2 separate regions of the Homo sapiens genome follow, and region 2 is linked to region 1. Evidence: promoter capture Hi-C in 16 types of primary human blood cells and fetal thymus (Javierre and others, 2016). All regions are on one chromosome and are shown on one strand. Each heading gives the region's core, a stretch centred on a gene start or on the middle of the fragment in contact. The rest is flanking DNA. Distances are from core to core; before and after follow the strand shown. Region 1 holds the start of RPS29 (ribosomal protein S29). Region 2 holds the start of MAP4K5 (mitogen-activated protein kinase kinase kinase kinase 5).

Region 1 (4,635 bases), core at 2,009-4,508:
CTTTAAGAAATCACCAAACTGCTTTCCACAGTGCTGAAGTAATTTACATTCCCATCAGCAGTGTATACGTCTAAGATGAAGGTTTTTAAATGATTAAATTCTGGATGGATGATCACAGAAGACTGTAAGAATAATTTGAGAAAGAAAATTAAAGACATCTTGAATAATAGTGTCCTAACATGCATATTATTCCAATGTACTTAAAAATAAGATCTATACTTTGCAGTGTTAGAATGCTTCGATCTTACATGTATATTACTTTTAGTTTTTCAAAAGAAAAATATTAGTAGGGTTATCTGGGCAAGGACATTATGGCACTTTTTTTTTTCTTTTTCTTTGCACTTCATTGTACATTTTTTAAAAAACAAAGAACCCAAACCCAATAAATATCCTATTAAAGGAAAATGTGTTCTAAAAGAAGAAGCATTTCAAACCCATGTATAAAAGAGAACTAAGATGGCTCACGCCTGTAATCCCAGCACTTTGGGAGGTCGAGGCGGGCGGATCATGAGGTCAGGAGATCGAGACCATCCTGGCTAACAGGGTGAAACCCTGTCTCTACTAAAAATACAAAAAGAAATTAGCCGGGCATGGTGGCGGGCGCTGTAGTCCCAGCTACTCGGGAGGCTGAGGCAGGAGAATGGCGTGAACCCGGGAGGCGGAGCTTGCAGTGGGCCGAGATCGCACCACTACACTCCAGCCTGGGTCACAGAGCGAGACTCCAGACTCCGTCTCAAAAAAAAAAAAAAAAAAAAAAAAAAGGACTCAGAAACTGTAAGAAGACTACAGGATTAAGATAAAAGCTCTTAGGCCGGGCGTGGTGGCTCACTCCTGTAATCCCAGCAGTTTGGGAGGCTGAGGTGGGTGGATTACTCGAGGTCAGGACTTCGAGACCAGCCTAGCCAACATGGTGAAACCCCATCTCTACCAAAAATGTAAAAAATTAGACGGGTGTGGTGGCACGTGCCTGTAATTTCAGCAACTCGGGAGGCTGAGGCAGGAGAATCCCTTGAACCCAGGAGGTGCAGGTTGCAGTTAGCCAAGATGGTGCCATTGCACTCCAGCCTGGGCGACAGAGTGAGACTCCGTCTCAAAAAAAAAGGAAAAAAAACAAAACAAAACATAAAAGCTCTTGATAAACACCGAGTTAAAATGAACTTTTAAAGCTGTGTTCTCAGTTTGTTGAAAAAGAAATGGATAATTTCATGGTTTGGGATAGATGGTGTCACATTATCTTAAAACTGAAAGGAAGTACGACGTCTTAGCTGCACTTTTGCAATATCTCTATCAAAGAGAATAATGTATAGACTAGAATAAGTATTAAGAATTACTTAAGTATTCAGATTAAGATTGTTGAAGTGCAACTAATTGCTTCTCATTTGTCTTTTTTTCTCTCCTAAATGAATTCACTTCTTTAGGCCCAAAGGCTTATATATCAGAGTACTAAAAATATTAATGGAATTGATCTCAGAACCACTGTAATGTTTTAAATATTGTGGAGACCAACTAGAAGAGGCCTAAGAAAGTGTGGACAAATGTTAGATTAGCTTTTGAGAGGCAAATGGCTTTTGGAAACCACACATTAGTGACTGATATAAATTATAGGAAAGTTGTAAAAGCTTGACATTGGATCTTGCCCAATGAGGCTTTAAAATAAAATACCTTTTCATTCCTATCACTAGGCCTTTTGTCCATCTTCTATTCTAGTTACACAAAGTTGTTCACCTTACCTTGGCTCAAGCGCTTCCTTTCACCAGGCATTCCCTTCTGTCAAGTGCTGCCTGTAGAAATCCCATTCTTCAAGGTCTACCTCAAAGGTCTCTCAAATGTACCTCGAACTGGAATTAATTTCTCTTCTTGGCTCCTTTCGTACTTCATGAGCACACCCATGATTTAATACAGAATATTTTCCTTAGCTGTACATATGTTGTTGGTGCACAAACGTTGTATGTTGAAGTCTTGGAGATAATCCTGTTTCCCACAGATTAGAAAATTTTGAGGGCAAGGAGCAAGTTATATCTAGTTTACAAATCTCTGACTCCCCTCCTTCCTTAATCATATAATACAATGCCTAACTTAATGATTGGGTAGGGGGACCCCACTAGAACCCTGACATAACATACCTTAAAGAAGTGTTGTATTTCAATTTATAAAAGTTTATATGTAAAAGTTTCTGGAATTGTTGCACCCTGTGCTACATTTTATAAATCTAGTTAAAGCTTTGATTTCAGAGCAGTTTTATCTGGAGGCATTATAAATGACCATATGGAATGTAGGTATCTTTCAGCAGAAATTCGTTTATTGACATTGGTTTTTTGCATTTTTGCATTTGCTTTTCATTACTTGTTTTGTCACCAAATTATCTGGTCAAAGCAACATACACTGCACATTACTTGTTTATTACTTTACATTCAGCCAATTACATTTAAGAATCAAATACACTAAATGCCAAAGAATCTCATTTTTTTTTGGAATGGTGTAGGTGTATTTCTTGGAGGAGTGTGTCAAAAAAATAAATTTGAAAACGTACTCTCTTTAACAAAATAAAAGCAAACCCTACCGTTGACTCGTGATCATTACAGCTGATTTTAAGTTGTTTTGTAAATTTATTCCAGTAGGTGTCACTGGTGAGTCGAGGAAAAACTCCTTTCCCAAGTGTAACGTTTTAATTAAAAGAAAGTAAAAGGTTTAATCAATAAAAAAGACTATGAGAATATTCATCTCTTGAGAGTCCAAAATTAACGTATTTATTGTTCAAAAGAGACGGGGTCTCGCTATGTTGCCCAGGCTGGAGTGCAGTGGCTATTCACAGGCGCGATCCCACTACTGATCAGCACGGGAGTTTTGACCTGCTCCGTTTCCGACCTGGGCCGGTTCACCCCTCCTTAGGCAACCTGGTGGTCCCCCGCTCCCGGGAGGTCACCATATTGATGCCGAACTTAGTGCGGACACCCGATCGGCATAGCGCACTACAGCCCAGAACTCCTGGACTCAAGCGATCCTCCAGCCTCAGCCTCCCGAGTAGCTGGGACTACAGGCACGCGCCACCGCGCCCGGCGGTCGGATACCGGCGCAGAATAGCACTAGAAGCTGTGGTATGGTGACGTCATCAACTGGGCCAGCCCACAACGCCTCTAAGATTTCATTTTACTCACCCAGCGAAACAACCTGACCACACTGCGCACGCGTTTCCTTTGAGCACTGCATTCTGGGTAAACTGTCTCAAAAATTTGAAGAGCGCATGCGTGGGCCAGCTTCTTCCTTTTACCTCGTTGCACTGCTGAGAGCAAGATGGGTCACCAGCAGCTGTACTGGAGCCACCCGCGAAAATTCGGCCAGGGTTCTCGCTCTTGGTGAGAAATAGTTTGTGATTTTGGGGAAGCGTTGCCGTGGAGCGCTAGGCTGCTTAAAATCTCAAGTAGAGGAGGCCACGGGCGGCACGAGGGAGCACGCCGACTGGGAGTCGCTGGTGCCGCCATTACAGGCCTGTACTGTGGCTTGGGAGTCCCGGGATGCGGGTAGTAGCCGTCTGAGTGCGGAGTCTTGTAATTTCTATGACCTGCAAAACCGCTGTCTCTTTTCTTACAGTCGTGTCTGTTCAAACCGGCACGGTCTGATCCGGAAATATGGCCTCAATATGTGCCGCCAGTGTTTCCGTCAGTACGCGAAGGATATCGGTTTCATTAAGGTAGGCGTCTGCAGGCGTACTCCATGTTGTTTGGGCAGAGAAGGTTGTGGGGGTTATTTTTTCCGCGAAAGACAAACGGACAGATCTTCCCTGGAGTGGTAATTCTGAGCATTCGACCAAGAGCTTTTCCTCTTTTTTTAGTTGGTAGCTGGTGACAGTGTTGATGGTTTGGGCAATCAAATTAATAGAATGGAGAAGGTGAAGGACTTAGTCTTTCCTACTCCCTTTTTTACCTAGATAGCTTAGCCAGTTTTAGGTGCCGTGTATTGTGTTTGGTGAAATTCACTTTAGAGAAGCCACTAAAATTGTTTTACATTTGTTTCATTTATCAATCTTGTAAGTACCTATTCTCTTTTTTTTTTTTTTAGAGATAGGGTCTCCCTCTGTCGCCCAGGTTGAAGTGCAGTGGCGTTGTTACGGCTCACTGCAGCCTCGAACTCCTCCTGGTCTCAGGCGATCCTCTTGCCTTGGCGTCCCGAGTAGCTGGGACTAAAGGCTCTTGCCACCACGCGCGGCTGTACCTAGATATTTTCTAACCAAATATATGTATTAACCGCTGACCCCAAGTTTTTTTTTTTTTTTTTTTGAGTCGGAGTCGCACTCACCCAACCTGGAGTGCGATGGCGTGATCTCCGCTCAGTGCAACCTCCGCCTCCCCGGTTCAAGCGATTCTCCTGCCTCAGCCTCCTGAATAGCTGGGATTACAGGCGCCTGCCACCATGTCCGGCTAATTTTTTTATTTTTAGTAGAGACGGGGTTTTACCATGTTGGTCAGGCTGGTCTCGAACTGCTGACCTCGTGATCCGCCTGCTTCGGCCTCCCAAAGTGCTGAGATTACAGGCGTGAGCCACCGCGCCCGGCCAACCCAAAATGTTTGAAAGCGTCATACACTGGAATGAACTTAAAGTTTGGGGCCGGAAAGACATTGTTAAGATTCAGCAAACAAT
Region 2 (5,072 bases), core at 2,573-5,072, 950 kb before region 1:
AATCTTGGCTCACCACAACCTCTACTTCCTGGGTTCAAGCGATTCTCCTGCCTCAGCCTCCCAAGTAGCTGGGATTACAGGCATGTACCACCATGCCTGGCTAATTTTGTAGTTTTAGCAGAGATGGGGTTTTGGTCAGGCTGGTCTCAAACTCCCGACCTCAGATGATCCGCCCACCTTGGCCTCCCAAAGTGCTGGGATTACAGGCATGGGCCATGGCGCCAGACCTCAATTTAATGTATTAGTCTGTTTTCATGCTGCTGATAAAGACAAACCTGAGACCGGGCAATCTACAAAAGAAAGAGGTTTAATTGGACTTACAGTTCCATGTGGCTGCGAAGCCTCACAATCATGGCAGAGGGCAAGGAAGAGCAAGTCATGTCTCACACGATGGCAGCAGGCAAAGAGAGGGAGCTTGTGCAGGGGAACTCCTCTTTTTAAAACCATCAGGTCTCGTGAGAGTTATTCACTATCATGAAAACAGCATGGGAAAGACTTGCCCTCATGATTCATTACCTCCTACCTGGTCCCTCCCACAACACGTGGGAATTCAAGATGAGATTTGGGTGGGGACACAGACAAACCATATCAGTAACATATCTGATGATCAATTCAAACTGGATGAAAGGGATATCGACTGCCTTCCTCACCTCTCCTTTTTAAAACTCTCATCCTAATGACCTGATACTAATCCTGAATGAGATACATGTTCTATTGCCATCCAGAACAAATTATATAAAAATTGCCCTATATTTGGAAAACATGGTTTATGCCTCAAAAGACAAGTGGCCCTAATTAGTAAAACAATAGTTTAATAATAATTATTTAAAAATCCAAATCATAATTGTGGCAATGTCTTCCAACATTTAATTGATTTCTGTTTAACAGATCTATAGAGCAGTCAACTGAATCATAGAGTTACATGTTGAAATTAGTTTATGTTGGCAGATTAATCAGGAGATTACCAGATTGCTTAAATCTGTATGTTCAATAGACTAAAGTTATTGTCCTTATGCTCTGTCCTTTCACACTTGAAGGTTTAATTAGCCATTTTGTCTTGGATAATAAATTGTGAACCTTAGCTTTATATAAGATAAAGCATTTTATGTCTCCCAATTCTTTTTTATTCAGCCTTGGCTAAAGTTAGAGCTGAAATTAGAGGCCACAGATTACAGTCAGCATTTTACTGAAGAACTTTCAAAGAAGGGAAGTACATTACAAAGCATGTGGCAAACCATTATCGTATATTATAATGATAAGGGTAAAAGCTGAAAAATATTTATGTGTCAGCATGAAGATACTAAGAATGCATGACAATTAGGTTGGAATGAAGGACCTATCAAGCCATATTTATTCTTATTCCATACCTTGTCATATGAAACTGGGTGGTTTGTAAGAAACTCTCTGGTCAGTTACCATGACATAACTAACATATTATTACATAAACTTCAACCTTGAAATTGTTTGCTTAATTGTCTAGGATGTAAAATTAAATTTACTCAGTGTACATTTAAGTAAATTGAATTTGCATTTCTTTACAAAGCAACCCACTTCACTGATCTTGTTAAAATTAACTCAACCAGTATTTTAAAAATCCTTAAGATTCTTTTGGAGTTAGTATAAAACAAATGTTTTCCTCTTTGCATGAATTGCAGTACAAGTAAAATAATGATTATAGCAGACACATAGAGTCTCGACTTTTTAACCACCACATAGAGTCTTGACTTTTTCCATGCTATCTGCCTCTAGGTTGATGGTCAAAGCATATGGATCTGCCATTACTGGCAACATAAAATATCCGCACTCCAGGGTCTTGTTGAAGCCTATGACCTCAAACATTTCACTGCCTAATTCATTTTAAATGCTGTATTTCAAGAATAACATGCTTAAAGGATTGTCAGGATATTTGTCCTCGTCTCAAACTGGGCATTCAGTTTCTACTTTATGAAGAAGGCTCATTAAATAAAATTTTTGGAAGTCTTTGCATTAGGAAAATATATGCCTCTTCTTGATCAATTGGTTACTCTTGATCTCAAAAACACTATAAAATCCTCTGGTTGGCCGATTTGTCACACTGTTCTGGTTTCGTATTTTCCTTCTCTTTAACGTCATACTAGTTTGCCCACTTATTTTTATCTTGTTTTATAGTAAGTGTTTTCTGTGTGCTGCCTGAAATTCCCTGGAGTAACGCAAGTGTAAACATGTAAGAATAAATATATTTCAGACTAGATAAAGGATCAGTGCTTATATGGCCAGAGGAAAAAAATCTCAAATGAATCTATGACAGTAAACAAGTGCTAAGATACCAATAGAACATTTGAAGAGATTTTGAGTCATCGAAGCCAAAAGTATGTGCCCACCAAAACAAGTGCCAAGAATCTTTGAAAGAAGGAACTGTTCTTCAACAATTTTTTCAATGCAGCAAACACATAGGCTTTGTCCATGGAGCATGTAAGTCTGGGCTTACTTATGTTCCCCAAATAAGTGCCCTTTGTGTGTGGAGCACAAGAAAATACATATATGCCCTGTCCTGTTAAGGTGCGAATTTAATTTCTACATTATACAATTATCAACAATAAGGAGTATTGTCAATTACTCCTTATTATACATTATACAATTATCAACAATAAGGAGTATTTTAATTCTCAAGAGCAGAATTAAAAATTGGATGTTCAAAGCCACAAGCCAACATCTCCAACTTGCTCTTTTATGATGTTTCAGTCACTAAATGCAGTGGCTGAGTGTTATCTGGCTTTTCTGTTCAAATTCTCTATGAGGCTCTAGAAATAACTTAGCCAGTATAATGTAACACTGGCAACTTAATTTCTACCTTCAGAGCAAGACTGGAACTGAAACTGCAAAACAGCTTGTGAAATATCAGCCAAATTACTTCCCCGAACTCCTGTTCCATATATGCTGTGCATTGTTAAGTATTTTAAGACCTCTTATATTCGATAACCCCCCTTACTATCCTGTAAAACGCTTTATAAACACTTTCCTGGGTGTCAGATGCAAAATCTTACCCTCTTCAAGCTGCAGATAAGGACACCGAGATGTTGCCAAATATGCTGTTTTGTCCCAGAGCACATACTGAGGAAGTGGTAGAACCAGAACCAGTCTGTGACCCCTTTGTTTTACTTTTGCGGAACTCCTGGTCTCATTAAAGGTGCAATACCAGCGATGAGACACTGCGTGTGCCCAACAGGGACAAAGGTCATTGAGCAGTCCTAGGAATTCAGACTTTCAGAAATGTCTCAGAAGAACTAAGTAGAAGGCAGGTTGTGCAGGTGTGCAGTGCAGCCTCAAACTGGTACCACCGGGATCGGTTTGCAAAACAGGAAGGTGCAGTAGGGTGTGCCGGGACTTAGTTAACCTGGCACTCCCCCACCTCCTTCCCCGGCGCCCCGCTGCCAGGTTACTTCTGGCCCGGTGCCCTTAACGTACCTTTTCCGTGTTTAACTTGGAGGGCTACGTTCCCATCGCCCTTCTTCCTCTACCCGTCACCCTACAGGCCTACCTGACAAATGTGGGGACGGTTTAGCCAAGGCCCGTTGGCCCACGAATGCCCAGGCGTGTGCCTTATTTCTGAGAGTGGGAGGGAGACAGCCCAGGCCCTGCAAGGACGCGCCCGGCTAGGGGGGCGCGGTGGCGCGGTCGGGAGGGTGTTGTGTTCTCAGCAGGCCTCAGGGCGGCACTCTGGTTCTGCGGCCGGAGTGCTCGGGCGGGCCGCTGGGCGCCGACCCATGCTGGCTGGGAACGTGTCTCCCGGTGACGCAGCCCCGGGTGGGGAACGTGGTGCGGCGGCGGCGGCGGCGGCGACTGTACGCGCCTCCGCCGCCCCCGAGAGGACGCGCCGTGCAGCGGCTGAGTGGCGGCGGCGGCGACGGCAAACCCGGAGCTGCCGGCCGGCGCGCGGGAGGAGGACGCGGGTGCGGTCTAGGAAGTAGGTCCCGGGCTCCGCGCTCAACAAAGACGGGGCCGCCCCCATTAGGTACGGAGCCGGCCCTGGGCCCCGGCTGGCGGGGAGGCCTCGTCGGGCAGTTCGCGGGCGGCCGGGGAGGGGGAAGGGCCGCAGACCGAACGGGGATACGGGGCGCCGGGGGCCCTTCCAGGCCCCTTTCTCTTCCACGGCCCCTGGCGGGACGGAAGGGAAGGGGCCGGGCCGCGAGGGCGCGGGCCGCTGGGGGTCGTAGCCTGCGACGCCAACCAGCCTTTGCTCGTCCCTCGTGCAGACGGAGCTGCGGGCGGAGGCTCCATGTTGGGAAGCGGCGCCGTTCGTGCTTGTTAGCGGGAATCCGGGAGCCGCGGGGTGAGCTGGCGGGGGCCGGGCCCTAAGTGAAGATGGAGGCCCCGCTGCGGCCTGCCGCGGACATCCTGAGGCGGAACCCGCAGCAGGACTACGAACTCGTCCAGAGGGTCGGCAGCGGCACCTACGGGGACGTCTATAAGGTAAGTGAGGCTGGCCGTGCTTTTTTCCTGCGGTCGACTGGGTCCCGGGAATGGGGCCACTTTCCTGCGAAGTATTGGGGCGAGAGGAGGATGCTTTTATTGTTGCCTCTTGGGGAGAAAGCGGCCGGGGTCCCTTTTACTCGGTTCTGAGCACCCTCGACTCATGGCTTGTTCTAATCGCTACCAACAGGCAGAACTAACCACACAGTTGCAAACCGCTGTTGCACTTTTTTTGTGGTTTAAAGGCTTTTTAATAGGGCTTATTTATGGTATTGAAGGGAATTTGAATCTGCTTGTGGAATTACACCGAAGGATGCTCTAGTGTTAGCATGGAAAAATGCTTCATGGAAGATAGACAGGAAAGAATATTGACATTCAGACATTTGCATTTTTTTAAAAAAATTTGTTTCAATGGATGAGTTTGACTAAAAAAGCCATATGAAACCCTGTCTCTGAGCTTTAACTGTAAGCAAACTAATATTGGTGACATTTATGCAAGCATTATCCCATATAAAAAGATGCTTTTCCTGGTGGAAGTTTGATCGTTTGTTTTTGGTTGGCGATAAAAATGTGATATTAACTTGCTGGGTTTTGTTTTACTTTAGCGGTTCCTTTCAGGGATT

The links. The method cuts DNA at HindIII sites, captures the fragments that hold promoters and counts their contacts. A CHiCAGO score of 5 or more calls a contact.
Region 2: the fragment with the promoter of MAP4K5 here is called in contact with the fragment with the promoter of RPS29 in region 1 in 1 of 17 cell types (fetal thymus); the score reaches 7.3 in fetal thymus.

The regions. Positions count from the first base shown.
Region 1 is chr14:49,585,003-49,589,637 of GRCh38, reverse strand. RPS29 (ribosomal protein S29) reads left to right here and starts at 3,258. Exons shown (of 3, transcript NM_001032.5): 1 at 3,258-3,353; 2 at 3,589-3,688. The coding sequence starts at 3,292. It also overlaps RN7SL1. RefSeq lists enhancers at 2,698-3,207, 3,080-3,579, 4,178-4,227. The HindIII fragment of the contact is 6,928 bases long and covers 2,222-4,635 here.
Region 2 is chr14:50,531,319-50,536,390 of GRCh38, reverse strand. It overlaps MAP4K5 (mitogen-activated protein kinase kinase kinase kinase 5), which reads left to right and starts at 3,822. Exons shown (of 33, transcript NM_006575.6): 1 at 3,822-3,943; 2 at 4,233-4,449. The coding sequence starts at 4,342. It also overlaps a transcript of ATL1 not described here. RefSeq lists a silencer at 3,499-4,128. The HindIII fragment of the contact is 11,447 bases long and covers 1-5,072 here.